7 separate regions of the Homo sapiens genome follow, and all the other regions are linked to region 7. Evidence: promoter capture Hi-C in 16 types of primary human blood cells and fetal thymus (Javierre and others, 2016). All regions are on one chromosome and are shown on one strand. The core of a region is centred on a gene start or on the middle of the fragment in contact, and the rest is flanking DNA. Distances in the headings are between cores, read along the strand shown. Region 1 holds the start of HLTF-AS1 (HLTF antisense RNA 1). Region 2 overlaps LOC107986045 (a long non-coding RNA gene). Region 3 overlaps HLTF (helicase like transcription factor). Region 4 has its middle 7.0 kb from the start of GYG1. Region 5 overlaps SERP1 (stress associated endoplasmic reticulum protein 1). Region 6 has its middle 21 kb from the start of HLTF. Region 7 holds the start of COMMD2 (COMM domain containing 2).

What was found. The method cuts DNA at HindIII sites, captures the fragments that hold promoters and counts their contacts. A CHiCAGO score of 5 or more calls a contact.
Region 1: the fragment with the promoter of HLTF-AS1 here is called in contact with the fragment with the promoter of COMMD2 in region 7 in 9 of 17 cell types (naive CD8 T cells, activated CD4 T cells, total CD8 T cells and 6 more); the score reaches 19.6 in naive CD8 T cells.
Region 2: a contact is called between a fragment that was not itself captured here and the fragment with the promoter of COMMD2 in region 7, in 2 of 17 cell types (fetal thymus and naive CD4 T cells). The highest score is 7.8, in fetal thymus.
Region 3: a fragment that was not itself captured here is called in contact with the fragment with the promoter of COMMD2 in region 7 in 2 of 17 cell types (total CD4 T cells and activated CD4 T cells); the score reaches 6.0 in total CD4 T cells.
Region 4: a fragment that was not itself captured here is called in contact with the fragment with the promoter of COMMD2 in region 7 in 6 of 17 cell types (naive CD8 T cells, activated CD4 T cells, non-activated CD4 T cells and 3 more); the score reaches 11.0 in naive CD8 T cells.
Region 5: a contact is called between a fragment that was not itself captured here and the fragment with the promoter of COMMD2 in region 7, in 2 of 17 cell types (naive B cells and naive CD4 T cells). The highest score is 5.8, in naive B cells.
Region 6: a fragment that was not itself captured here is called in contact with the fragment with the promoter of COMMD2 in region 7 in 2 of 17 cell types (fetal thymus and naive CD4 T cells); the score reaches 6.3 in fetal thymus.

What each region holds. Positions count from the first base shown.
Region 1 is chr3:149,083,982-149,087,660 of GRCh38, forward strand. It overlaps HLTF-AS1 (HLTF antisense RNA 1), which reads left to right and starts at 2,351. Exons shown (of 3, transcript NR_046648.1): 1 at 2,351-2,497. It overlaps HLTF (helicase like transcription factor), which reads right to left and starts at 2,552. Exons shown (of 25, transcript NM_003071.4): 1 at 2,336-2,552; 2 at 701-908. The coding sequence starts at 2,355. RefSeq lists enhancers at 1,879-2,396, 2,302-2,511, 2,397-2,914. The HindIII fragment of the contact is 6,248 bases long and covers 334-3,679 here.
Region 2 is chr3:148,948,982-148,952,345 of GRCh38, forward strand. The region is part of intron 2 of LOC107986045 (a long non-coding RNA gene); the gene reads left to right. Among named protein-coding and RNA genes, the nearest start is that of GYG1, 41 kb to the right of the region's middle. The HindIII fragment of the contact is 6,256 bases long and covers 1-3,364 here.
Region 3 is chr3:149,043,302-149,046,989 of GRCh38, forward strand. HLTF (helicase like transcription factor) reads right to left here. Exons shown (of 25, transcript NM_003071.4): 18 at 2,779-2,958. Among named protein-coding and RNA genes, the nearest start is that of HLTF-AS1, 41 kb to the right of the region's middle. The HindIII fragment of the contact is 1,405 bases long and covers 1,154-2,558 here.
Region 4 is chr3:148,982,788-148,986,349 of GRCh38, forward strand. It overlaps the pseudogene UBQLN4P1. Among named protein-coding and RNA genes, the nearest start is that of GYG1, 7.0 kb to the right of the region's middle. The HindIII fragment of the contact is 9,960 bases long and covers 1-3,562 here.
Region 5 is chr3:150,543,003-150,546,286 of GRCh38, forward strand. It overlaps SERP1 (stress associated endoplasmic reticulum protein 1), which reads right to left. Exons shown (of 3, transcript NM_014445.4): 1 at 3,050-3,284; 2 at 2,701-2,776; 3 at 1-1,496. The coding sequence starts at 3,133. The coding sequence ends at 1,456. Among named protein-coding and RNA genes, the nearest start is that of SERP1, 1.9 kb to the right of the region's middle. RefSeq lists enhancers at 3,005-3,284, 3,081-3,284. The HindIII fragment of the contact is 410 bases long and covers 1,527-1,936 here.
Region 6 is chr3:149,105,693-149,109,441 of GRCh38, forward strand. No RefSeq gene overlaps it. Among named protein-coding and RNA genes, the nearest start is that of HLTF, 21 kb to the left of the region's middle. The HindIII fragment of the contact is 2,641 bases long and covers 493-3,133 here.
Region 7 is chr3:149,751,239-149,754,465 of GRCh38, forward strand. COMMD2 (COMM domain containing 2) reads right to left here and starts at 1,251. Exons shown (of 5, transcript NM_016094.4): 1 at 1,140-1,251; 2 at 972-1,049; 3 at 165-247. The coding sequence starts at 1,206. RefSeq lists a silencer at 1,407-1,476. The HindIII fragment of the contact is 1,089 bases long and covers 779-1,867 here.

The DNA of each region.
Region 1 (3,679 bases), core at 1,101-3,600, 670 kb before region 7:
AATTCTATGCAACATTAGGATATGGAGATTTTATTACAAAGATTTTATTACAAAGATATATTACAAAGATTTTAAATTCAGCCCAACTGTCATTAAGTCCTTCATAACTTTCATTTTATGAAACTGTCATTCATAAAATGCCACAAGTATGAAAATATAAAAACTTAGGAAATATTGTCTCTTCCTAAGGAATCTCCTAGACAACACATTTCAGACAATCAAAAAACAATTTGAAACGTTCCAATGTAAAGGAAATACAGGAGAAAAACAAATCCAGAACATGAAACTCCTAAGGAATCTCCTGTCGAACATGCTTCAGACACCCTATTGAGAAGCTTAAACATAAGAAACATACGGAGAAATGAAAGAATAAAATCCAGAAGATTCCACAAAACGATCTCCTTTTTGCAACAAATCGATGACATGAACAAGGCGCTGGGGTGTGGGGGTGGGGTGCTACCCATAATAACCAAACATAACGCACTGAGGCCAAGCATATTGGCTCATTCCTGTAATCCCAACACTCTGGGAGGCTGAGGTGGGAGGGTCACTTAAGGTATTTGTTATTTTTTGCGTACAAATATTTAACTAACTTAAAGTAAAATAAAGATTAACCGCACACATCACCTGCGAATTCTCTTATTTTCTAGGTTAACGCCAGAAATATAATCAAAATTTAATTATCTACTATTATACTCACTACTCCCGTGTAATAGCGTAGTCCAACCACATGACCTCTCAAACTTCCAAATAAAACGGAATCTACTTCTTCATCACTAGTTAGAAAGTCATCTGGAGGGATAACATCTTGGAATTCAAAACGTGGAAAGAAAGTTGGATATGAGAGGCGTGGAAAATTTCCATGAACTCCATACTGGACAGTCTGCAAGTACTTCCAAACTGGATCCCTATTTTTTTTTAAAGGCAAAGAAAAACAATATAATATTTAAGTATTTCCAAAGACCATATGAGTAGTTTTCTCATGCTTTACTTCAGCAAATGAAATCTTACATGGGAATCACGGTAAAGATTAATAGTTACTCTCGTTAAAGCAGGAATTGCAGTGAGTGGAGAAGGCTTCTAGGAACTCTACCTGTTTTCAATATTGGCTCTTCTACCTGCCCCCTAGGTATTCAAAATGAAAAGCCTAGTCAGAGTTCACTAACCTCTTTCCCAGTGAAAATCATCTAAATTGATATGTATATGATGTCTGTAACTACAATTATGGGCCGGATGCGGTGGCTCACGCCTGGAATCCCAGCACTTTGGGAGGCAGAGGCAGGTGGATCACCTGAGGTCAGGAATTTGAGACCAACCTGGCCAACATTGTGAAACCCTGTCTACTACAAATACAAAAATTAGCCAGGCGTGGTGGCGCCCATATGTAATCCCAGCTACTCGGGAGGCTGAGGCAGGAGAATCACTTGAACCCGGGAGGCGTAGGTTGCAGCGAGCCGAGATTGTGCCACTGCACTCCAGCCTGGACGACAGAGCGAGACTCCATGTCAAAAAAATAATTTAAAAAATGAAATCATATGCCAAAATTTCAATAGGGATTGAGCTATATAAAAGACTTATAAAAATACAACTATTAATGTACCAGAAGTTGTTTATAATTTTCCAGAAAATACATCCAGCATCCATCACTGTAACTCCCTGCGAGCAGAACACCTATTCTGGTATCCAAACCACGCCACCGTGGGAAATTGGCCCCAAGCCACCCGTACCCGCCTTCCGTCGCCGGTTTAAGCATAACCCCAAACCCATTAGGTGTAACTGTTTCGGGAATGACCATAAATACCAATTTGGACAATGAAAAGTGAAGGGGAGTCTACTGGAGCATTGCAAAAAGTTTCCATTCTCCTAAGAACAGTCGCTTATTTGCGATGCGTTTTCCTTGCAAGTGGCGCATATCTCTACTAGCGCCTCTGCAAATACTTATCTGCACGTCTGTGCATACAGATAAGCTGTGAGCCACTTGGGGACAAGGACTGTCTTACTCGGCCCTCCACCGAGCACAATGCCTGGCGCACAGTGGGTATCTAATGGATGTTTTGTTAAATAAAGCACTGGCCGAGATGCTTTAAGCCCCAGGCCCCCCACAGTCGGTGACAGAGATTTCCCAAGTCCCTAACACGGGACTCGCCCTAGGAGCCCCTACTCGCCAGCGAAGACAATGCATTTATTTCTCCGGCGGCCACATATGCGACCAACAGAACGAATACAGCTGCACAAATCGCCCAGGGAACGCAGAGGAACGCGGGGAAGGTCAGGTTCATTTGGGGACGCCTCCAGGCCGTTAGACCGAGCGCCCCACCCCCTCCGCCCCCTTCACCTCTTGAACATCCAGGACATGGCGCTGAGTGGGATGACAAGAGGAGCGCCTCGGCTCCCCTGGATCGTTTTCGAGCCGCCTCGATACGCCTCCTTCCAGGCCCCGCAGCCCTGAAGCCGGGGACAAATTCCGAGCGCCGGATCAGGAGCGCACGACTGAAAGGTAAGTCGCCGCGAGTCCAGTCAGACGTCGACGCCGTCTCCTTCTGCAACAATCTGGGAGACCAGCGTCGCTCTGTGACTGGCACTAGGAAAGCCCAATCACGAAGAGGAGAGTGCGGAGCCAAACCAGTCAGAGCACAGAAGGGAGGGCAACTCCGCCCCGCTGCCATTCAAAGACGGCGGGGGGTCCGGGCTGCAAGGGTGGTTCCATCCGGGTTCTTCCCCGCCCCCAAGGCGGGCGCGCGGGAAAGCCACGAGGCCCCAGGAGTGCGACTGCGGTGCCTGCGGTGCCGGTGTTTTGTTTGATTCCCTGCCTCAAACGGAGGGAAACGACCTTCCTTTATCCTACGAGTCCTAAGACTGAACCCCATTCTAAAGGCTCTACCGTATCCTTCCTCTTATTTTCTTCTCATCTAATGTGGCACATAATAGGGCCTTATACTAAAGGAGCTCCACGGTTTACGAGACCTAGAGCTACCGGCGAGATACTTTACTTCATTCCCTGTGGTGAACCGTGGGGACTTTCGCTCCAAATTTTCATGTTAAGCCTCAGCGTATGCATGAGACACAACGAGTTTGGAAAATCTTAAATGGAACTTAGAGTCCCCTCCCCACCTCTTTTTGTTATTTTTAAGGAAAATTTTCCTTTCTTGGTGCAGGAAACCCATCACATGTTTATTACAGCTATGGGGGCGTTTGCCTGAAATGGTGGACGGGACCATTTTCCCCGTGGGCACTTGGCTGCTCCAGCCAAGAGGGGGAGGCCCTTGTTTTCCTCAAGGAACTGCAGAGGGGCGCTCTGAGGCCCTCCATGGCTCTCTTTCCAGAGTCTGAGGTGACCGGAAGGAGAATGCGGCCCTGGGACCGTCAACCTTGGACCAGCTGCAGCCGACGCCTGGCAGGGCTGGTCGCTTTGCGTTGAGGAGGCTGCTGTCCCCGAAGCTGGCCTTTTAATCGCACAGGGCAGGAAGCTGGTGGTGGCGCCCAGCTGCACAGGCGGCACCATGTAACTGCCAGATAATACTTGCGCGTCACAGAGAGGTCCATGTTACACGCCTGTCAGCACAATAATATTAGGTGGTCAGCTTTTCTTTTTTCTTTTTTTTGTTTTTTTTTCTTTTTTATTGAGATGGAGTCTTGCTCTGTCCCCCAGGCTGGAGTGCAATGGGGGTGATCTTGGCTC
Region 2 (3,364 bases), core at 843-3,342, 800 kb before region 7:
CTTTCTTCCAGCTGTCTCACAATGATTCCTCTGAAACTCACCGAGTAAACATTAATTTGCCATGAAACAGCTCCCACTCGAGCATCTTCCATTCCACTAGAAGCGTGCACTTTATGACTCCCATGCCTGGTCTGCATCACGCTGTTGGTTTGCTCTGGCAGCCCTGTTGAGCCTAATGGTATAATTCATTCCCGTTTGTTTTATTGGTTAAATCAAATTAAAATGTGTATTTGGCCGGGATATAGTGTGCTCACTTGTGTGTATTTTAATTTACACACATGAACCCAGTTTTGAGACCCAGAGGCCCAGTTTAAAAATTAGAAGTTTTCAAAGCCATACTGCAACAATCAACAACAGTTAAAAGACTTCACAGACAGCAAATATTTAAAATAAGTTTAATTACCAAGAACTACTGGTCTTCGAGCCCAAGGAAGTATGACTCCCATCTGCAAGGTTCCCACACCTGATTGCAACAGAGTGACCGGATATCTTTCATAGATCTCCTGAGCTGAAGTCTCTAGGCAGGAACCTAGAATCTCTATTTTCCACAAGCTCTCAGCCAGCCCCACATATTTTTCAGTCCAGTGTTTGAAAGCACTGCTCTGAATTGCACCTCTTTCTCATCTCAGAATTGCTCTGAATTTCTCACCTCTTTCAGAAAGATTTGATAAAACAACTTCTACCAGTGTTTACCAGCCTAAAGTCTTGCATACCGTCTTGATTCTTGTCATATCTGTGTACCACCTCTACTGTAATTTACCTAATATGTGTATGCCAGTTGGCTTATATTTTTGCATAAATGAACTTAGTTGTTTAAAAACTATATCATTGCCATGAAATCACGACTTTGGTGTATATATATATTTTTTATTTATTTATTTATTTATTTTGAGACGGAGTCCCACTCTGTTGCCCAGGCTGGAGTGCAGTGGTGCAGTGGTGCGATCTCGGCTCACTGCAAGCTCCGCCTCCTGGGTTCACGCCATTTTCCTGCCTCAGCCTCCCAAGTAGCTGGGACTACAGGTGCCCGCCACCACACACAACTAATTTTTTTGTATTTTTAGTACAGATGGGGTTTCACCATGTTAGCCAGGATGGTCTCAATTTCCTGACCTCGTGATCCGCCCGCCTCGGCCTCCCAAAGTGTTGGGATTACAGGCTTGAGCCACCTTGCCCGGCCATATTTTTCTAACATACAATACAATAAAATGTACAAGTAAAAATTGCTTTCAAATGTTCTTCCCTGTAACAGTAAACATAGTTTTTACATCAATGGGGTAGCCTTACAATATCTGAGAAAACACTAATAAAAGGGAATAATCTGATCCCACCTTTCCTCCAAAGATGGCTCTAAGGAAAAATGTAAATAGGGAAGTTTTGTATTGAGGGCCTCATTCCTCATCCATGTTCTCCTTCCTTTAAACAGTAATCACATAAATCACTGGGGGTGGGGCCTGGGTATCGAGTAATTCTAATATGAGCTAGGGGTAAAAGCCATTATGTCATTTCCCTTTCAAAAGACATTTCTCCTCAACAATGAACCTCATTCCTCCTACCACTTCCATAGGGCCAGCCTTTATGCACTGAGAGAAAGCCAATTTTCAGGCTGTCCTAAATTCATACTACATCAATATGTCTATACATCCACTACTGACAGGCTTGTTTTACTTATTTCATTCTTCCTTTCTTCTTATTCTGTTTCGTTATTTTATTAGCTAAAATAAATGACTTTTCTGATTTTGGAAGCAAATGTTCAACGAAAGAAAATTTAGAAAGTAAAAATAAGTAACAAAAGTAAACACTTTAAAGGCCCATAATACCACTTTTAACACTGCAGGACATATATCAAAACCCTTTCTAGAATATGAGTCAGAGTGTTATTTAGAAAATGGTATGTGCTGAATGCACCACTGTAAAAGAAGGAGAGATGCTTTTTCCTCCCTCACTCCCAAGCAAATTTCGTGTTCTAAGTCTGAGCTTCCTAGCCTCAGCCACTTGTTAATAAGTATAGTTGCAGAGCTACAAACCAGAAGCCAGGAGGTGCTAGAAAGCTAACACTCTATCCACCCAGAAAGAGACTAGTCCTGAGAGTGGAGGCCTAAGCCAGGAGGACAGAAGTTTTGCCAAGGAGGAGACCAGTGGCATTGGGTTCAAGAAATGGTGAAGATCTATGCCCCACTCCCAAACAGTCCTCAAGCAGTGACCTGGACTGAACCCCAGGTTTTTGGCCTTGGCACACAACAAAAAATTCCCGTGCCCAGCTTGGTAGAGGAAAGGAAGCTGCCCTCTTAAAAAGGGCAATGAACATCCTAAAATCCTCAACAGCTTTATAAATCAAGAAGAGCCTCCTAAAACTCAACTGAGATGGAATGTCCTGCTAGTTGTGGTCGGTGGGAGGGGACAAATTGATCTAATTTGGAATTGTTAAGGCCCATTGACCTAAACCACCAGATTTCTGGAGCCTCTTGATAAGAGGGAGTTGAGAGGGCTTCTTATAAGATCTGGGAATTTAATGGATAAATTTAAGGAGAAATTAGGAAAGTAGGGATCAAATCTGGATGAGATTCTGTCAAAATGAAGGTACAATTTTTATCTTAGCAAGGAAAAAATTTTTATCTTAGCAAGGAAAAAATCTAAAGTGGGTAAGAGTTGTCATTCATTTAAAAAGAAAGAAAATAGCAGTCACTTCTGTTAAAAGAAGAATGTATCTAGTCATTTTTATGGTTATAGAGTGGCCTCATCTTTATCTTGTTCCAAACATAGTCACAGAGTGGCCTTGTCTGAACATTGTTTATATTCTGTAAGCATTGTTAGTGTTCACTTGGGAACGTCATGATCCAGCAGCCAGCAGCACAAATTTTTACTTTCCTAAACAAATAAAGGAATGTATCACCACTCAGACCAAACTAATATTTACTTTATATATATACACACACATACAAATAAAATATTATGCTATACATACTATTGGATAATATGCTTTATATAATGACATAGCATCAGTAGCTTTCCATGACAGTGTTCATCAGCATCACTTTAAATGTAGGAATGGAGCTCCATCATGCAGATGAGCCAAAACGTGTTTCATTAATCCCCCATTGCTCAACATTTAACATGTTTTCCTTTGTGTGTGTATGTGTGCGTGTGTGTGTGTGTGTGTGTGTGTATTAGTTTGCTAAGGCTGCTGTAACAAAATACCACAGACTGCATGGCTTAAATAAGAGAAATTTCTTTTCTCACAATTCTAGAGGCCAGAAGTCCCAAATCAAAATGTCAGCAGGATTGATTTCATTCTGAGGCCTCTCTCCTTGACTTGTAGATGGCTTTCTTCCTCCAGTGTCTTCACATGGTCTTTCTTCTGCGT
Region 3 (3,688 bases), core at 606-3,105, 710 kb before region 7:
AACAGGACTGAGAAAATCAAAATTAAACAAAAAAATGTAAAAGATCAGAAATAAAATGATACCTATGGAACACAGATAAAAGACATCTAACATACACAGAGAGAAATAAAATAATGGAACAGAAAACAATATTTAAAGAAAGCTTTCCAGGAAAGAGAAGGGGGGAAAAGCCTGGAATCTAAAGATTTAAATAATATCACATGTCCCAGGGGAAAGTCAACAAAGAAGTTGCTGAACTTCAGAGGGAAAAAAAAAAAAAAAAAAAAAACCAGGCTTCCCCACAGAAACATTCTATACAAAATACAGTGGTACAATGACAACATAGATTCTTAAGGAAATGGGTGATCCAAAAATTATATAACCAGGCCATCTGATATTTAAGTATTTTAAGGCAACAGAAGAAATATAGCCTAACGGCTAAGAGTACAAATTTTTAGAGCTAGCTGGTCATGAATTCAAAACCTGGCTGTGCCAATTTAATTATGTAACCTTGGACAGGTTGCTTAACCTATGTCTTGAGCTTCCTCAGTTCTAACAGTGGCATTGTAAAAGTACCTACCTCATACAACTACTGTTATTTAATTTAATACATGTAAAGTATTTAAAATAGTGCCTGGACTATATTAAGTGCTATACATGAATCTGTTGCTAGTATTAGTACTGGTAGTATTATGGCAACAAACATTTCTGAATATTCAAGAATGCAAGGAATAGGCAAAATAATACAAAGATTAAACTTACAAGCTCTAAACCAAAGTGCCAGAGTTAATCTGTCCTGTCACTCACTAGCTGTGTGACAACAGTGTAAGTCACCTAAACTGCTCTGTGCCTCAGTTTCCTCACTTATAAGATGTGGATAATTATACTGACCTAATAGGATTGCTGTGAATACATTTAAAGCACTAAGATCAATGTATAACACCTAGTGAGTGCTAAATAAATGTTAGTAAATATATAGCCTATTAAAAAGAATACTTTAAAAATAACTTATTTTCTGAGAACAGTTTCAATAAAGTTAATCTTTTTCAACTTTTTCAAATAGAATAACCTTTACTAACACTAATTATTCCCTGGCATGGTCATATCTTACTGATACTCAGCATTTCAATTTAAGAGATCTCTTTTGAGTGCCTACCATGTGCTAAATATTAGAAGCTTCCTTCCTCCTATTTCACCAGCCATTGCTATCTTCACAGTTAGATCTCTTTCACTTTACTCACTCCCTTGGTGATCTCATGGCTTTAATTACCATCCACACATAGCTGACTTTGAACTCGACTCTCCTATCCAACTAATTATTTGATATCTCTACTTGGAAAATTCACGGGCATCCTATGATCAATGTGTCCAAAACTGAGCTTCTGATCTTAGCTTAAAAAAATCTCTGCTCTTCCCATAGACCTGTCTTGGTAAACAGCAATTCCAGCCTTCCACTTATGCAGGTAAAAAGGCTTGAAGTTATCTTTGATTCCTCTTTCACATGCCATAACATATCAACCAGCAAGTTCTGTTGGTTCTACGTTCACAATTTAACAGAATCTAATCATTTCTCACTCCCTTTATCACTACTATGGTAAAAACCACCATCATCTCTTGCTTTGACTGCCACTGGTCTCCCTACTTCTGACCTTATTCCTATTCAAATAACCTAAATCTGAGCACAGCAGCCAGAGTGATCTTTTAAAAATATAAATCAGATTACGTCCCTCTCCTGGCTCAAAACCCTTTAAGGTTTCCTGTCATAAAAAGTAAAAGCCAAAGTCCTTGACATATGCGTTACATACCCCCATTCCAATAAATCTCTGATATCATGACTATTTTCTCTCGTTCATACTATCCAGCCACACTTGCTTCTCTGTTATTCTTCAAGCTCACCAGGCATGTTCCCAACTGGGAGCATCTACACTTGCTCTTCCTTCTGGCTGAAACACCCCTTAATCCCAATCTCCTTTAGATCTTTACCTATATATCATCTTCTCAGTGAGGTCTTCCTTAATACCCTACTAAAACAGCTTTGGCATTCCCCATCCCCTTTCGTTGCTTTATTCCTTAAAACTTAATCATGTTTTTAAATTATCTGTTTCTTCCCATTAAAATATAAATTCCTCGAGTGCAGGCATTTTTGTCTGTTTTATTCTGCTGTATCCCAATGGGTATAAGTGCCTGGCACACAGTGGGCACTTAATAAATTTTTGTTGAAAGAATATGAAAAGAAAGAAGATTTTGAACTCAGAAATCTGCTGCTTAGAACAATCTTTCCCACTCTCTCTAATTCCTATCAAACCTGCTTTGTACCTACCTCACTGAAGTTTTTATGTTTTGAAGATTCCCCTTTCACAGTCCTATTCTGCTTTCACTTGTCTCTTATTCATTCTGTTCCCTGTGGGCTCACATTAAACCTGATCTTGCTTGGACCAGAATTTCATACCTTCTACCAATCCTTAATCTTCTTGTTAAACCTATTTCATCAGTTCCTATTTCCAGATTTCCATACGATTTTGGAAATAGAAGCAAGCAAAATCTTCTGGCTAGCAATTGAGAACTTGTCATTTAAAGTAAGCTTTAAATTATTTCCTAACTTAAAAAATTACTTACCTGGTGAATTATACTATTATTTCATTCACTTTATTGATTTGTAAAAAACACTGTAATTCATAGAAGCAAATTATCTTTCAGTATACTTCAAACTATTGCTAACACATCTAAATAATGTCATTCAGTGAATGGGAAACAAAGTAAACAAAAACTAATTTTTAACATGGTTTTCTTTCTCCATACCTTCCAATAGTGGCTCTGCCTTCATTTTTCACAGACTGATAAATCTTTCTCTCTTCATCTGAAAGTGTAATGTGCTGAATAAATACTTTACGTTCTGGTAACTCCAAAACAGGTTTTCCTTTAATTTTGCTTGTCTTTGTTCTTCTAAGTGTAATATTTTTAATTAGGGACTGTAAACGCCTAATCAGAATAAAACAAATAATTATGTAACTTTTAATTTCTACATAAATTGATCCAAGAAGAACGAAACAGAACATTTTAATTTGTTACTGTTTTATAGCTTCTGTAAAAGTGTTTTTAAAATCCCTTATTTGGGATTTTAACCAATCTGATAATCACAGAAGTATTCTACAAAAATAAAATTATTAAAACAAATGTATGGAAATTTCCCCTCAATACCTAACATAGTTTAATCTTTTTATATCCTGTCCTTATTTTCGTAAGTTCTGTTCCCCATTTTTGTTCCAATCACTAACTCTTTTACTTCTCAACTGTCCTGTCAACTCCATCACCGAATAGTCAACACTCAAATTCTAAGTATCTATTAAGTGCCAGGCACTGAATTAAATGTTGTAAGAATACAAATATGGGTAAGATACTACATTCTGTAATATTAAAATCAAAAGTATATAAATAAGTAATTGTATAAAGTAATGAGTGCCCCCAAAATAAAAAGATAATATGGTAATTCAGAACACAGAAAAATGCTTTACAGGTTCCACAATCTTTACATTTCTTTCTCAGTACTGGAAAAAAAGAGATGTATCAATTCTTGTTTTTTCCCAACATTGAAATATAAATACAATTTCCTGGAGTTTAAATAGTTGGTTTTGAGGAATCAAGTGGATAGTACTGCCAACTAGGTTAGTGGCTCTTGAAGCTTTCTCACTATAACTCACAGTAAGAAACA
Region 4 (3,562 bases), core at 475-2,974, 770 kb before region 7:
TATTTTTATTTATTTATTTAAAAAAATTTTTTTTGAAATGGGGTCTTGCTCTGTCACCCAGGCTGGAGTGCAGTGGCACGATCTCGGCTCACTGCAACCTCTGCCTCCTGGGTTCAGTGATTCTCTTCTTGCCTCAGCCTCCAGAGTAGCCACCACACCCGGCTAATTTTTATATTTTTAGTAGCGACGGTGTTTCGCCATTTTGGCAGGCTGGTCTCAAACTCCTGACCTCAGGTTATCCACCCATCTCAGCCTCCCAAAATGCTAGGATTACAGGTGTGAACCACGGTGCCCGGCCCTCAGAAGAACAAAATTCGTTCACATTTCCAAATTTCAAAGTTACTAGAAAGCTACAGAAATCAAGATGGTGTGGAACTAACATTAGGATTGACATATAAATCAATGAAATAGAATTGATTCCAGAAATTGAATTTAGTCACATTTATGATCAATTGATTTTTCATAATCGTGCCAAGACAATTCAGTGGGAAAAGAATAGTCTTTTCAACAGATGGTATTGGAACAACTCAATGTTCACACACAAAAGAAAAAACCTGAACTCCTACTTCACAACATAAAAAACTTAACAAAAATTAACTCAAAATGGACTATGGACATAATTTTAAAAGCTAAAACTACAAAACTCCTGAAGAAAACATAGGAGTAAATCTTCATGACTTTTGGTTAGGCAATAGTTTCCTAGGTATGACACCAAAAACAGAAGCAACAGAAGAAAAATAAATTGGACTATATCAAAATTTAAAACTTCTATGCTACAAACAATACTACCAAGAATATGAAAAGTTAACTCGCAGAATGAGAGAATATATTTGCAAATCATATAGCTGATAAAAGATTTGCGTCTAGACAAAGAAATTTTACAACTCAATAACAAAGTAAACCCAATTAAAAAGTGAGCAAAGGGTTTGAATAGACATTTCTCCAAAGAAGTTGTACACATGGTTAGTAAGCACATGAAAAGATAATCAATATCAAAAGTCACTAGAGAAATGCAAATAAGAATCACAACGAGATATCACTTCAGACAACAACAAATGTTGGCTAAGAAACGAAGAAATTTGAACCATCATACATTGCTGGTGGAAATGAAAAATGATACAGATGTTCTGGAAAACAGTCTGGCAGTTCCTAAAATGTTAAACATAGAATTACCACATGATCTAGCAATTCTACTCTTTGTATATATTTAGGAAAAAAAATATGTCAATGCAAAAATTTGAACACAAATGTTCACAGCAGCATTATTCATACCAGCCAGAGTGGAAACTACCCAAATGTCCACCAACATGTTCATCCATAATGAATGGATAAACAAAATGTGGTATACCCATAATGAAATATTATTTGGCAATAAAAAAGAAATGAATTTTTTTTTTCACAACAAAGACCACGCCATTTATTTACAAAGGCCAGTGTGGGAGCTGGGGGAGGCAGGGAGGGAAAGCCACACAGACATCTTCTCTGGACTGCTTGGGACCCTTTCCCACTTGGAGCAAACTCTGTTCCTCTTGCCGTCATATTCTCAGCCATGGGGTCGGTCCTCCAAGCAGCTGGGCCAAGTAGGAGAGGGAAGAGGTGATATGAGCCTCCTCTGTGCTCTGACAGAGCAATGTCCAATTCCAGATCAAAGGCATCATTGCCACCCTCTCCTCTCCTTCCTCAAAGAAAACTTTCTGGCCTGGAGGGAAATAGTTAAGAACTGAAAGGCCAGGGGCTCTGGAGGAAAAAAACCCTCTACTATTCCCACAAGGCAGTGAGGGGTGATAAGGGTGCTAGTCACAGCCCTGACAGCTTCAGAAAGGGTACCCACATTACCTCTGGGTTACCCAGCATCCAGAGCTCCAAGGGACCTAGCTCTCCCAGATATATATTCCTGCAATGGACTGACCTTTTTACCCACTTGTCTCTGGTGGTGGGAGAGCACTCTGAACCAGAAACCAACAAGGAATCCACTTCCCACCCAACTTAAGAGTGTATGCACACATGTGGATACACATGCACCTCCCCACTACTCACACAGACCCCAACCCCCTTCATGTCTTTTGAGGGGGGCTCAAATTACTGGTGCCTGGGGACACAAGCAAGACCTGGGTCCATGGAAATGTGTGTGTGTGTGCATATAAGCACATGTGCTTGAGGAACTAAAGCCAATATGACCCCTTGTGGGGCGTGGCGCTTAGCTTCATTGAGCTCCTTTCTTCAGTTTAAATTCCATTAGCATCTCTAAGTCTCTTCTGCCAGCTTGGGCCTGGATTCTTCTGCCTAAAAGAGCTACGAGTGCTTCTGCTCCCCACTGTTAATTCCAACTTCCAAGCCTTTTACTCAGGCTGTCTCCCCCATTCCCCTCCTCCGAATAATCTCATTCCCTCCTCTTTCACATCAATTTCCTCTGAGCTGCTCCAGGGTTTGTTAATTCCTGTCCAGAGAGCTCTCTCATCTCCCTCTTCAGACAGGGAGAACAGGCGTCTTCCTCCTTACCCTGGAATTTCCAACAGTTCCCACCAAAAAGTGCTGAATGAACCAGAATAGGGGCCGAGGAGGAAAATTACCACCTGTTTCACCTGCTCCTCCTTCAGAGCGAGAAATTCTAGCATTGGTTGGGCTAGGGGTTGGGGGGTAGGGAGAAAAAGAAGGAAGAGAGTTACCAAAAGTAAACATAAGACAAAACCCTAGTGGTATAGATGGAAGACTATGTTCCAGTAAACCAGAGAGCTGGTTCCTCCCTCGACTCTGCACAGCCACTGAAAGTTTAAAGATTGCAAAAGTGGTGTGGGGCAAGGAGGTAGAGTCAATCAATGAAACTGTGAAAACTGTTTAAGTAGCACTGCTCAAGGAGACCAGGAGAGAAGATTCTGTTAGAGACGTAGCAGTAAAACCATAATTCTCAGACAGAGCTAAGGGGTTGGAGCCCATGTCTCTAAAGTCACCCTGCTGTTTGGAAAGGATGAGGGAGAAGACGGAAGGGATGACAAGCTGCAGAGGGTAAGGATTGACAGAAGAACCGAATGCTGACATCGAGGGAGGGGAGAGGCAGGAGGCATGGGACGAGGGATTAGGAGAGCTGGGAGCCCAGCAGTCTCTCGATAGCTGCGTTGATGTCCCCTCCTGTGGCAATCAGGGCCTGCAGGTTGGCCTCACGATTGATGAAGCCCATGGAGTTGAGCTGCTCCAGCTGCTGCTGAAATCTCACTTCTGACGTCTGCACCTGTGAGTTTCCACTTCCAGCCAAAAGCTGGATCATCTGCTGCATGAGTTGCTGCTGGGTGCTGGAAGCCCCTGTTGGAGAAGATGTGGCTGGCGTGGCTGGTGAGGAAGTGGGGGCCTCGGGCGTAGACCCTGCGTTGCTGCCTGCTGAGGGTGCTGGGGTCCGGGACATCCCGAAGGAGACAAGGCTGGGTACCAGCCCAGGGGCCTCGGTCTGCAAGGTCTGTAGTCCCTGCTGGATCTGCAGCAATGCCTGCATGGCTCGGGGATTGGTAAGGATGGAGAGTGACTCTGGGTTCTGCATCTGCTGCAGGAAGACTGGGAGCTGCAGGCGGAG
Region 5 (3,284 bases), core at 482-2,981, 790 kb after region 7:
AACCACTCTGCTCCCTTACTGTTCTCCATGTTTGAGGGTATCAGAAGCCCCCTGTGAGGTTCACGCTGTGTATAGACTAGGTAGCAGATTTCCCTTCTGTTCCTCTTAAAACAGCTTATTTTAAAAGAAATATCCTGAGGCAATTAACAAAGCAAACACAAGCAGCTTTCTTTCCAACGCATTAATACATAGACACTGCTCAGGTTTTTTTTCACCAAGTTATGGCTAAGTATACAAATAGCCAATACTTGCAGTTTTCAACAGTACTAGAAAACCCAAAACCTGCCCTATGACCCTCACCCTTACCATTAGTAAAACGTAAATTTGATCAATCATAACCTATAAAGTCATATAACAAAGGGAAGACTAAAGACTGATCATTATCAGTAAATCCATTCAATTCCAGATGCCACTTTAGGCTGATGTGTCTAGTACCCTAATGATTGAAAAATCATTAATCTAGAAAAAGCATTTGCAAACTAAGGATAACTTCGCAGTTGATGTGCCTTTTTTTGCTATTAAAAGTGCTATTTAACATGCTAAAATGTCTTATGGCACATTGGACTCAACAGCATGTTCTGATGAGGCATCCATTTTTAGCAGTATTTTTCCCTAGAATTTTGTTTGGCATAGTAAACCCCTTTGATATATTAAAATAGTTCTGGTGAAATAAATGTAACATAAACAAACCTTCCCTGACTGACTTCACTCCACCACGGTAGCTTTTAGTGAAACCACAGTAACTGATTAAGTCAGAAAACGATCAAGTTTTTTTTTTATGGCATCTTGGGTTACTATACTCACTCATGCAAAATCCAAGGTAGTGTAATGGAAACAATATTGGTAAAATAGATGTTGTGGCTATAAGCATCTCCCTTTATATTAGACATTTAGAAGCTTTTAAAACTTTTTAGATGCTAAAGGTTGTGGCAAAACTAGGCTGTGTAGTTGTTCCATTTATAAGCACCTTATTACAGGACAGTTACATGAACCTATAAGGGAGTGTGCTTTCAGTTCAAAAGAGTAATAAAGTGCCTAGCTATATAAAAACCACAAGACTTCAAATTGTAATTTAAGCTAACTGCAGTTATACATTTGGGTTAACAAAATCTAGACCCTGTCTATGCAGAGTTAGACTAATTGTTCATACTGTTTTAATAACCACATAAAAAAACTTACTCTTAATTGACTGAATAAGTAGGGTCCACTACTGTATCTTAACAATCAAATTTTATTGCTTTATTCATGTGGTGTTTTTTGCAAGGCACTGTGGTATGGACTAGAAAACTTGGAATGACTCATGAAGAAACCTTGGAATGACACATGAAGCATGATAGGAAAGTCATTCTGAGGCAGGATGCTTTACTGAATTGTTTTCAACCAGGGTATCAAACATCAGGAATGAGTTCAAGTTAAAATTCACAGGAGAATGGAAACATCTTAAGGTCAGTCACTTCACATGCCCATCCTGATACTTTGAATAATCTGGAAAATTGCTGTAAAAAGAAAGAGCAAATATTAAAATAAGCTTTGAATAAAATAGGTCTGGTGTCTAACAAATATTTATTAAGGTAGCTGAAGAATCCAAAGGTACTCTTACATTTGCAAATGGTACATAACTTCAGTATAATAAGAAGTGAAGACAGGCCTGTCTGAATAAATAAAACAATGAAATATCCCTGAGTTATTTTTTTATCTTAGCTTCGCTGAACTTTATGTCTAAGTATCCAAGAGAACTTGCAGATAAGTAATCATTTTACAAAGAACTTAAAGCACCAAAGCCAACAGGTTTTTCCAGCATAGAATTATTTTGGTTTATAAGCATCCTTTTAAGGCCTGGCCTGTAACACATGCATGTTTCCTCATTCTCACAAAGCTGAAATTCAATCATCTTCAGGTTATATAAACTGCTTGGCTCTCATCCATTTATCAGGAAAGCTTCCAATTGGTAAGTGAAGAAGAAAGGCAAAGTGAAACGTTAAACAGAAATCTCAGTAATTTTAGAATGTGGAAAACAAACATCTACTTCAATATTAACAGCTTGCATATTAAAATGATAAATGAAGAGAGGAAAGACCTTTTTTTTGTAATCTATTTGCAAAGGCAAGTGTCTGTTACTCTTAGGGGACAGCAGGCTACCCCGACACTTTTTTTTTAAACCATGTATCAAACGTTTCTTTTATTAACCTAAAAACATTTGACTCACACATTAAAATGCCAATCAGGTAATTTCCTCTATAGTGAATCAATTCTTTGCACAAGCTTTATTTTATAAAATATACTCAATTTTGACATTAAGACATTAGATTCTGGTATATGTTAAATCAAGTTCTAACATCTATAGTACATATTTATAATTTTCTTTGCAAAGACTGATAATGGAGTTACAAAACATTCTAAATTCTCATTTCGTTAGGTTTTGTCCGGTCTTAACATTTATTCCAACTGGATCATTACCAAGACCTGACCTCCTTTTTGATCTCCTGTGAGTACAAATTAAGCTGGGAGAAGTTTCTGGAGCACCACCCTCTGTGCATATGTGGAACAAGTAATTTGGTTCAGACGAAACAGAATTATGTGGAGTCCTCGGCAGGTGGGTTGAGAACTACGCAGGTAGGACTCACTACTGACCGGTCACCACGTCATCCCAAATCCTTTCAACCCAAGACTCTACCTGATGGGAGCCCCCAAGCCACTTACCAGAACCACAGACAACAAAAATGAAGAGAGCCAATAACCAGGGTCCTACAGACGCCTTCTCTTCGGGGGCATTTCTCTGCAAAAGCGAAAATCCACCATTTCAGATGCAGAGAAACCACTCGGACCCCAGGCTCCCACGCCTGCACGCCGGTCGCCGGCCCCCTCACCTCACAGGTCTCCCCTTCCGTTCCCGAGCCCCCACAGTCTGGCGGTTCGCAGACTCGGGCCCCTACCCCTCCACGGCACCAGCCCACGGTCGGCCGGATCCGGGAGAAAACGCGACGCGGCCCCAGGGACCCGGACTCAGCTCCGGCTGCGGAACGCAGAGGGGCGCCCGCTCTTTCCTTACCGAGGTCTTGGCGACGTTGCCGCGCTGGGTGATGTTCTTGCTGTGCTTCTCGTTGGCCATACGGATCCTTTGCTTGGCGACCATCTTCGCGGCGCCACCACCTGCCCCGGCCACCCCTCGGACTCGCTCACTCGCCTGCCTCCTCTGGAGCCGCTGCGAGGCTCGGCTCGTGGTGCCCGCGCCGCCGGAGCGCCGAGGTTCTCAGGCCAGACGCTAGCTACGGCCGCTGGGCCTG
Region 6 (3,749 bases), core at 563-3,062, 640 kb before region 7:
GCAGGAAATAAATGTAACAGTGTGTTAGAAAACAGAAACTAGAAAGGGGTAAAGATACAAAATGAAGGGTCTGGCTTCTCACTGTCTGCATGTGGGGATCTGGTTTCAGTTCTTCGATACTTTTTGAGAGATCTGGGGGTCTTTCTTCCTGAGGAAGGAACTCAGAGAAAAACAAATACATGTTTCAAGCTTTAAGACCAGAAGGACCAGTTTCTACATTTATCCAAAAAAAAAAATCTATTGGGCTATTGGATTGGTCTCAATCCCTGCATTCTATTTATCAGTTCCTTTATTATGGGGAATCTGGTCATTGATCTTTCTGGCTGCTGAGGAGGGGAACTGTGGCTCCATATCTTGGGTGACCACATGGCCAGCTAGGAATCCAAGGTTAATCTAATACTATAGTTTTTTTCTGAAACACAATCTTTCTCTCTCCAGTTCCCCACTTCCACCAAAAACAAGTCACAGCAATACCAACCTACTTGCAAAATAAGCTTCTGTTACTATACTTGGCCTGGTTACCCCCACAAATACAGCAAGAATCATTGTCCATATAGGGCCTCCTAAACTGGCTTTGCTGGAACCTCTCACAAGGCCATTTCAGTCAAAATTCTGGGAAAATAACAAGTTCCTCCACCTGTGTGTCATTAGAAAAGAAAACAGGTTCTTATTAACCACATGCAAACAACCACATTGCCATGAATTAAGAATATTCACAAACAGTTTACAAATTCTGGAGAAATTAGGCAGAAAGAGAAATATGCCTCAAAGTCTGTTTACAAAAGTATATTCTACTCAGTATATTTAGGCTACAAATAGCTCAAAACAAAAAAATTTCTCCAGACTCTGAAAAAAACAAAAAGAATCAGCAATATTTCAAACAAAAAAAGCCATAAAAATTATTTCAGTCCTCCATTAGTTCAGTCCATACAGTTAACTCTTGCTCTGCTTCATAATGGGTTAGCAATCTTTATGAACATACCAGCCTTTCAATTAGTGCCCTGGAAGTTTTCTTTCTAATGTAATGGCACAATCTCCAAAGTTATCAGAAACCTGCACTCAGAGTCCTTTCATGAACTCCCCCAAAGAAGCAAGCCCTGGACTGTAGCTAATTATAAGTCACTTTTTGAGAAGGATCAAAGCAAAACAACAATTGTAGATGGCAAAACTTAGCATGGCCATAAAGACACAGTTGACAAGATAATTTGGTTATTTCCATGGCGTACAACAATTTAATAATCATAATTATTACTGACAACATATATTAAGACATACCAGAATTTTAGGAGTCTCATACAATCCTGGAATACATTGGCAACACATCTAGAAATATGACCCAAAGGAAGCTAACTATCACCTCAGATTTGACAATGCTTCCTGAATAATTCTAACAGAACAAATAAGCCTAATATATCTCTCTTGGAGAGAGACAGGTGACTTCAGGGAACCTAATATCCAAAAAAGTTTGTTTAAGGTCAAAAAGATTGAATTTAAAACCTGAAATTCCACTCTTGGAGTCTGTCAAAGGTTTAAGACACTTCATATCACAAAATAGGATCATAGGTCATTATGAAATAGTCATTCATCTAGCTGAAATGATAAAACAAAAATATTTACTCTTTGATAGACAGACTCAGTTTCCCAAACAATAACACCTAATAAACTCAACACGAAGCCAACTAAATGTGTCTCCCCCCGTCCATTTTTTTTCCTGCAGTTTACTTAAAAGGTAAACACAAATCTCTTAAGATCTCTTACGTGAAAATGTTGTTTAAAAGAGAAAACCAAATTTTACATTTGTATGGTATATTATTAATACTAAAGCTGATTTAAATAAAACCTTATAAACAAATCTATCTAATTTTAATCAGTTTGACCATAAAGTAAGATTTCCATAAACTTTTTTTTTTTTTTTGAGACAGAGTCTTGCTCTGTCACCCAGGCTGGAGTGCAATGGTGCAATCTCGGCTCACTGCAAGCTCTGCCTCCCGGGTTGATGCCATTCTCCTGCCTCAGCCTCCCAAGTAGCTGGGACTACAGGCGCCCGCCACAGCACCTGGGTAATTTTTTGTATTTTTAGTAGAGACAGGGTTTCACCAGGGTCTCGATCTCCTGACCTCGTGATCCGCCCGCCTTGGCCTTCCAAAGTGCTGGGATTACAGGCGTGAGCCACCGCGCCTGGCCTCCATAAACTTTTTATAACCTTTTACAATTTTTTATTAAATAACTGATTAATGCTCCAAGAAAACCCTGTTATTCTGACACACAGTCCCAGATGCTGGCTTGCATCAGTATGCTTTTGATATTAATGTTTAATTTACAGAAACACTCTAATCTTATTATTCAAAATCAGCACTTACAATCTCACGCGCCCACCTCTTCCACTATAGTCCCTGGGCCTAGAGGGATTGCTTAGTTTTAATTTCCAGCCCTGTGTCTCATGAAAGCAGTTAATTTTGATTGTTGCCTTCTCTTGCATCTGAAGACGATAGTTCAATTGGTGTCAATGCTCAAAATTTAAAGGGGTAAGTGCCTTCTTCAGATCCAGGAGTCAAAGCCCTTAACAGCACAAGCATTAGTTAACAGGATATTTATACTGCAGAAATTCCTATCACTCTCTCTAACATGTTACAAATTAAAACACTATAATTTGGTGTATAGGAGTTACTGCCTGCACCACTTCCAACCACCGTATTAAAGTAGTTAGATTACTCATGGCATGTGTCTAATTGCTAGCATTCTGTGATAGATCTATGACCAAAAGCATCAAAAAGTGATAGGTCCTATGCCAACTCACCAAAGTAAAACAGCTAACCTTTCTCTCCATCATTAAAAATAAAAAATAAAAATAAAAAGCAAATGCAAATATCAGTTCTGGAAACTCAGTATGAAGATAAATTATCTCCCTTCCCTTAAATTCTGTACTACAAAACAGGCACAAAGTAAGAACAAGCACACAATAATTTATTTTCAGCTATTTCAACGAGCATCATCATGCATTTCCAAGATTGGTTTGTAGATATAGTACTAACAACTGATTAGGTAACTTTCACCACTAAAATCTTCAAACCAATTTAACATTTGTACATATTTTATTTTCAAGTACACACATGAAGCCCTAACAGTGATAAAAAGCTTAGGATCAAAGATCACTAGAAAGTCTCCCCTTAAAAAAAAAATTACTACTTAATTGAAGTGACTGTCACTTAATTTTAATAATGGTTAATGCAACTAAAGCAATTACAGAGAAATCCTGGTCAATGGAATTCTTTAAGAACAAGGCTGGCTGGGCACAGTGGCTCATGCCTGTAATTCCAACACTTTGGGAGGCAGAGGCGGGCAGATCACCTGAGATGTGGAGTTCAAGACTAGCCTGACCAACATGGTGACACCCTGTCTCTACTAAGAATACAAAATTAGCCAGGCATGGTGGTGCATGCCTGTAATCCCAGCTACTTGGGAGGCTGAGGCAGGAGAATCACTTGAACCCGGGAGATGGAGGTTGCAGTGAGCCGAGATTGAGAGGTGATAGCGTGCTGGCAGCCCTTGCTCACTCTTGGCGCCTCCTCAGCCTCGGCGCCCATTCTGGCCATGCTTGAGGAGCCCTTCAGCCCACCGCTGCACTGTGGGGAGCCCCTTTCTGGGCTGGCCAAGGCCAGAGCTGGCTCCCTCAGCTTGCGGGGAGGTGTGGAAGGAGAGGCATGGGCGGGAACCAGGGCTGCGCAAGCGGGGCTTGCAGGCCAGTGCGA
Region 7 (3,227 bases), core at 1-2,500:
AGATGATATGATTTTTATTTTTTAGGTATGTCTTCAAAAAATCAATTATAAACCATTAACAACATTATTAAAACACACAGGTACCTGCCAGGACTATGATGTAGAGTACACCAGACCGTTCTTAAGAATCCAGCCAACACAAAACAGTCCAGAAAATCCCTTACCATGAGCTTTGAGCTCTCAGTGAGGAGATACGTTAATCCTTCCACACCATGCTGGACAGTGTCACTACTCACATTGAGTTTTCCTGAGAAAGAAAAGTAAAAACGAGCAAATAAATTACTACTGTAGTATTTATCTTGTTCATATTTGTATTTAAAAATAAACACTATTCATTATTACATGTTTTCAAACACTGCATGAAAAACAGTAAGTTGGCCAGAGGCTCCTGCTCCTTGTCATTCCACTCCCAGCCAAATGCCTTTGGTATTTCCCACCAAGTAACCTTAACAAAATGCAGAACTGTGGAGACTAGTATCAGGTGCGTAGCCCTTCTCTTGAATACGTAGCTCCTTCAAGTCTGGCAGAAGAGGAACTCGACAGGGATTGACTTAATCCCAGAGACTGCCTCTTACCCAGGGGTAAAACAACACTTTTTTTTTTTTTTTTAGCAAAAGCGGATATCTGAACAACTAATAATGATAACCAAATACTTGCAATTTACAGTTGACCCAGCTATTCCACAGACTTTGGTATATTTATACAAAACACTTTTCAGTATTTCTGAAAGTAAGGTGGTATTATGTACATTTTACCATGAGAAAACTGATTTAATAGAAGCTTTAACAATCTCACAGCTACTTAAGGGACGGGCAGGATTTGCACCCTGACTGAAGAGCTCTGCTGGTTTTATTCTACTACAATCGGAACAAGACCCTAGGACTCGCAATAATCCGTTTCTCTCCCGGGAGACAGGGAATGGCTCGCAACCGCCCTAGAAGCCTGCGGAGCCTTCCCCTTTCCCTTCTTACTGGCGGCGCCTTCGTAGATTTTTGGGTTTGCGCCGCGTCTCAGGAATTCCACAGCAATCCGCCCAAACTCGGCGACCACTGCAATGAAAGTCAGAAGGCTGTTGAGTGCCAGGCGCTGCCTTTGACCTCCTCCCCAGCCCACAGAACACCGCCCCCACGCCCGCTGACCCGCGCTGTCCACTTGAGGCAGGAAGGCCAGGTGTTCCTTATGCTCCTCGGACAATTCCAGCAGCATCTTCACTGTCCTACGATTTCACCCGGCAGCGCCGACCCCGCCTTCGCCACTTCCGGCGCCCGTGTCCCGGCGCCTAGAGGCTCCGGCGTCGCAGCGTCCGGAGCTTTGGGTTCCGGCCTACGAACTAACGCGTTACACTCGGACGTTCCCTGCAGCGCAGGCTGAGGTCAGAACATTGAAATCATCCCGCAAAGATGCAGTGAGCGCCTGCTGGGTGCAAGGTGCTAGGCTCTATGGGAGATGAAAAGGTGTTTCAAATCCGACACGCCCCCTCGTGGAGCATACATTAATAATATCAATAGTTCACATTTGTTAAGCACTAACCGTGTCAGGAAGTGTTCTTACATTTATTAAATACATTTGGAGTTCAGAAGAACCCTATGAGGTAGGTTCCATTATAATTTCCATTAGAGATAAGGAAACTGATAGACAAGTCCAGCAACTGACACTTTTATAAAGCTAATAGTTTCCAGAGCTTCTATGTTATCTTAAATGTATCTCAGTTAATATCCTCAACAAACATGGCTTTGTTTTTACAGATAAGACACAAAGCTCCAGAGATTATGTGACAAAGCCTGTGACAGAGTTAGATGGAGAGGGTTGGATCCCTCACTTACCTGCTGCAAAGCCCATCCTTCTACATAACAGCCTGAAAGCTGAAAGCTTCTGACAAGTTTTATGAGTGATTATAAATTAGGATAAAGATAATGATGACAATGACCGATGCTTACAGGATTCAGAGCAATGTTTTTGTTTGTTTGTTTTGTTTTGTTTTGTTTTTTACATGGAGTCTCGCTCTGTCGCCCGGCTCACTGCAACCTCTGCCTCCCGGGTTCAAGCGATTCTCCTGCCTCAGCCTCCCGAGTAGCTGGTATTACAAGCGCCCACCACCATGCCTGGCTAATGTTTGTATTTTTAGTAGAGACGGGTTTTCACCATGTTGGCCAGGCTGGTCTTGAACTCCTGACCTCAAGTCATCCAGCCAACTTGGCCTCCCAAAGTGCTGGGATTACAAGCATGAACCACCACACCTGGCCCAGAGCAATGCCTTTTAAAAAGTATTTAGCGCCTGTGATAATTTAGTTCCTTTTCCAACTCTCTTCTCACCTGCTGTGGTTCAAATATCAGAGATGATAAAGTTGCTAATTGATAGGAATATGATTCTTCAAATCTTAACCCCTTGAAAATGGAGGGTGTGGAGGAAGAGAGGGGAAGGGAAGAAGACTCTTCATATCTGTCTTTTCTATCTAAGGCTTGAGACAACTCTATATTCTGAGTCTCCCAGGCAGACTAAAAATTGGAAGAGTTTTTCAATTCACTTCTCTGTGTCTACTTTGTCCTTCACATCTGACTGAAATTGTTTCTTCCACTGGGACACAGAAAGACAGGTCCTTGAACTTATTAGTTAGTTCTTGAAGTAGCATTTGCAGAGAGAACACAACTTTTACTTAGACTGTGAATTGCAGATTAGCAAAAATTGCATCATTTCCTGAAGTTGCCTTTATTCACACATTATTGAGAAAACATCCATTATTAAAGAATAATTTTCAGAAAAGGTAAAATCATGATTCTTCTACAAGTGTACAATGAACACATGTCAAAAAATGTATTGAACTAGTTAATTAATGAGAGAATTACAGCATTCTGTAATTAATGAGAGATTACAGTAAAAACCAGTTTCAACTGATTCAAAAGAGGTATTCAAGAACTGTACATATATAGGGAGTAGGAATGCTGAAATGAATTTGCAAATAGACACAATATTATGCCAATATGAAATGGCCTTTCTTGTCTGTAATCTCAGGGAATGAAGTGAGGACAGGCGAGGTGAAGGTGAGACTAGGGAGTAGCACAATAGGCTGTCTAAAAAAGGTGGTCAAGGAACCAAGTTAGGCCAGGTATGGTGGCTGATGCCTGTAAACCCAGCACTTTGGAAGGCCAAGGCGGGAGGATCACTTGAGGCCAGAAATTCAAGTCTAGCCTGACCAACATGGTAAAACCCCATCTCTACTAAAAATACA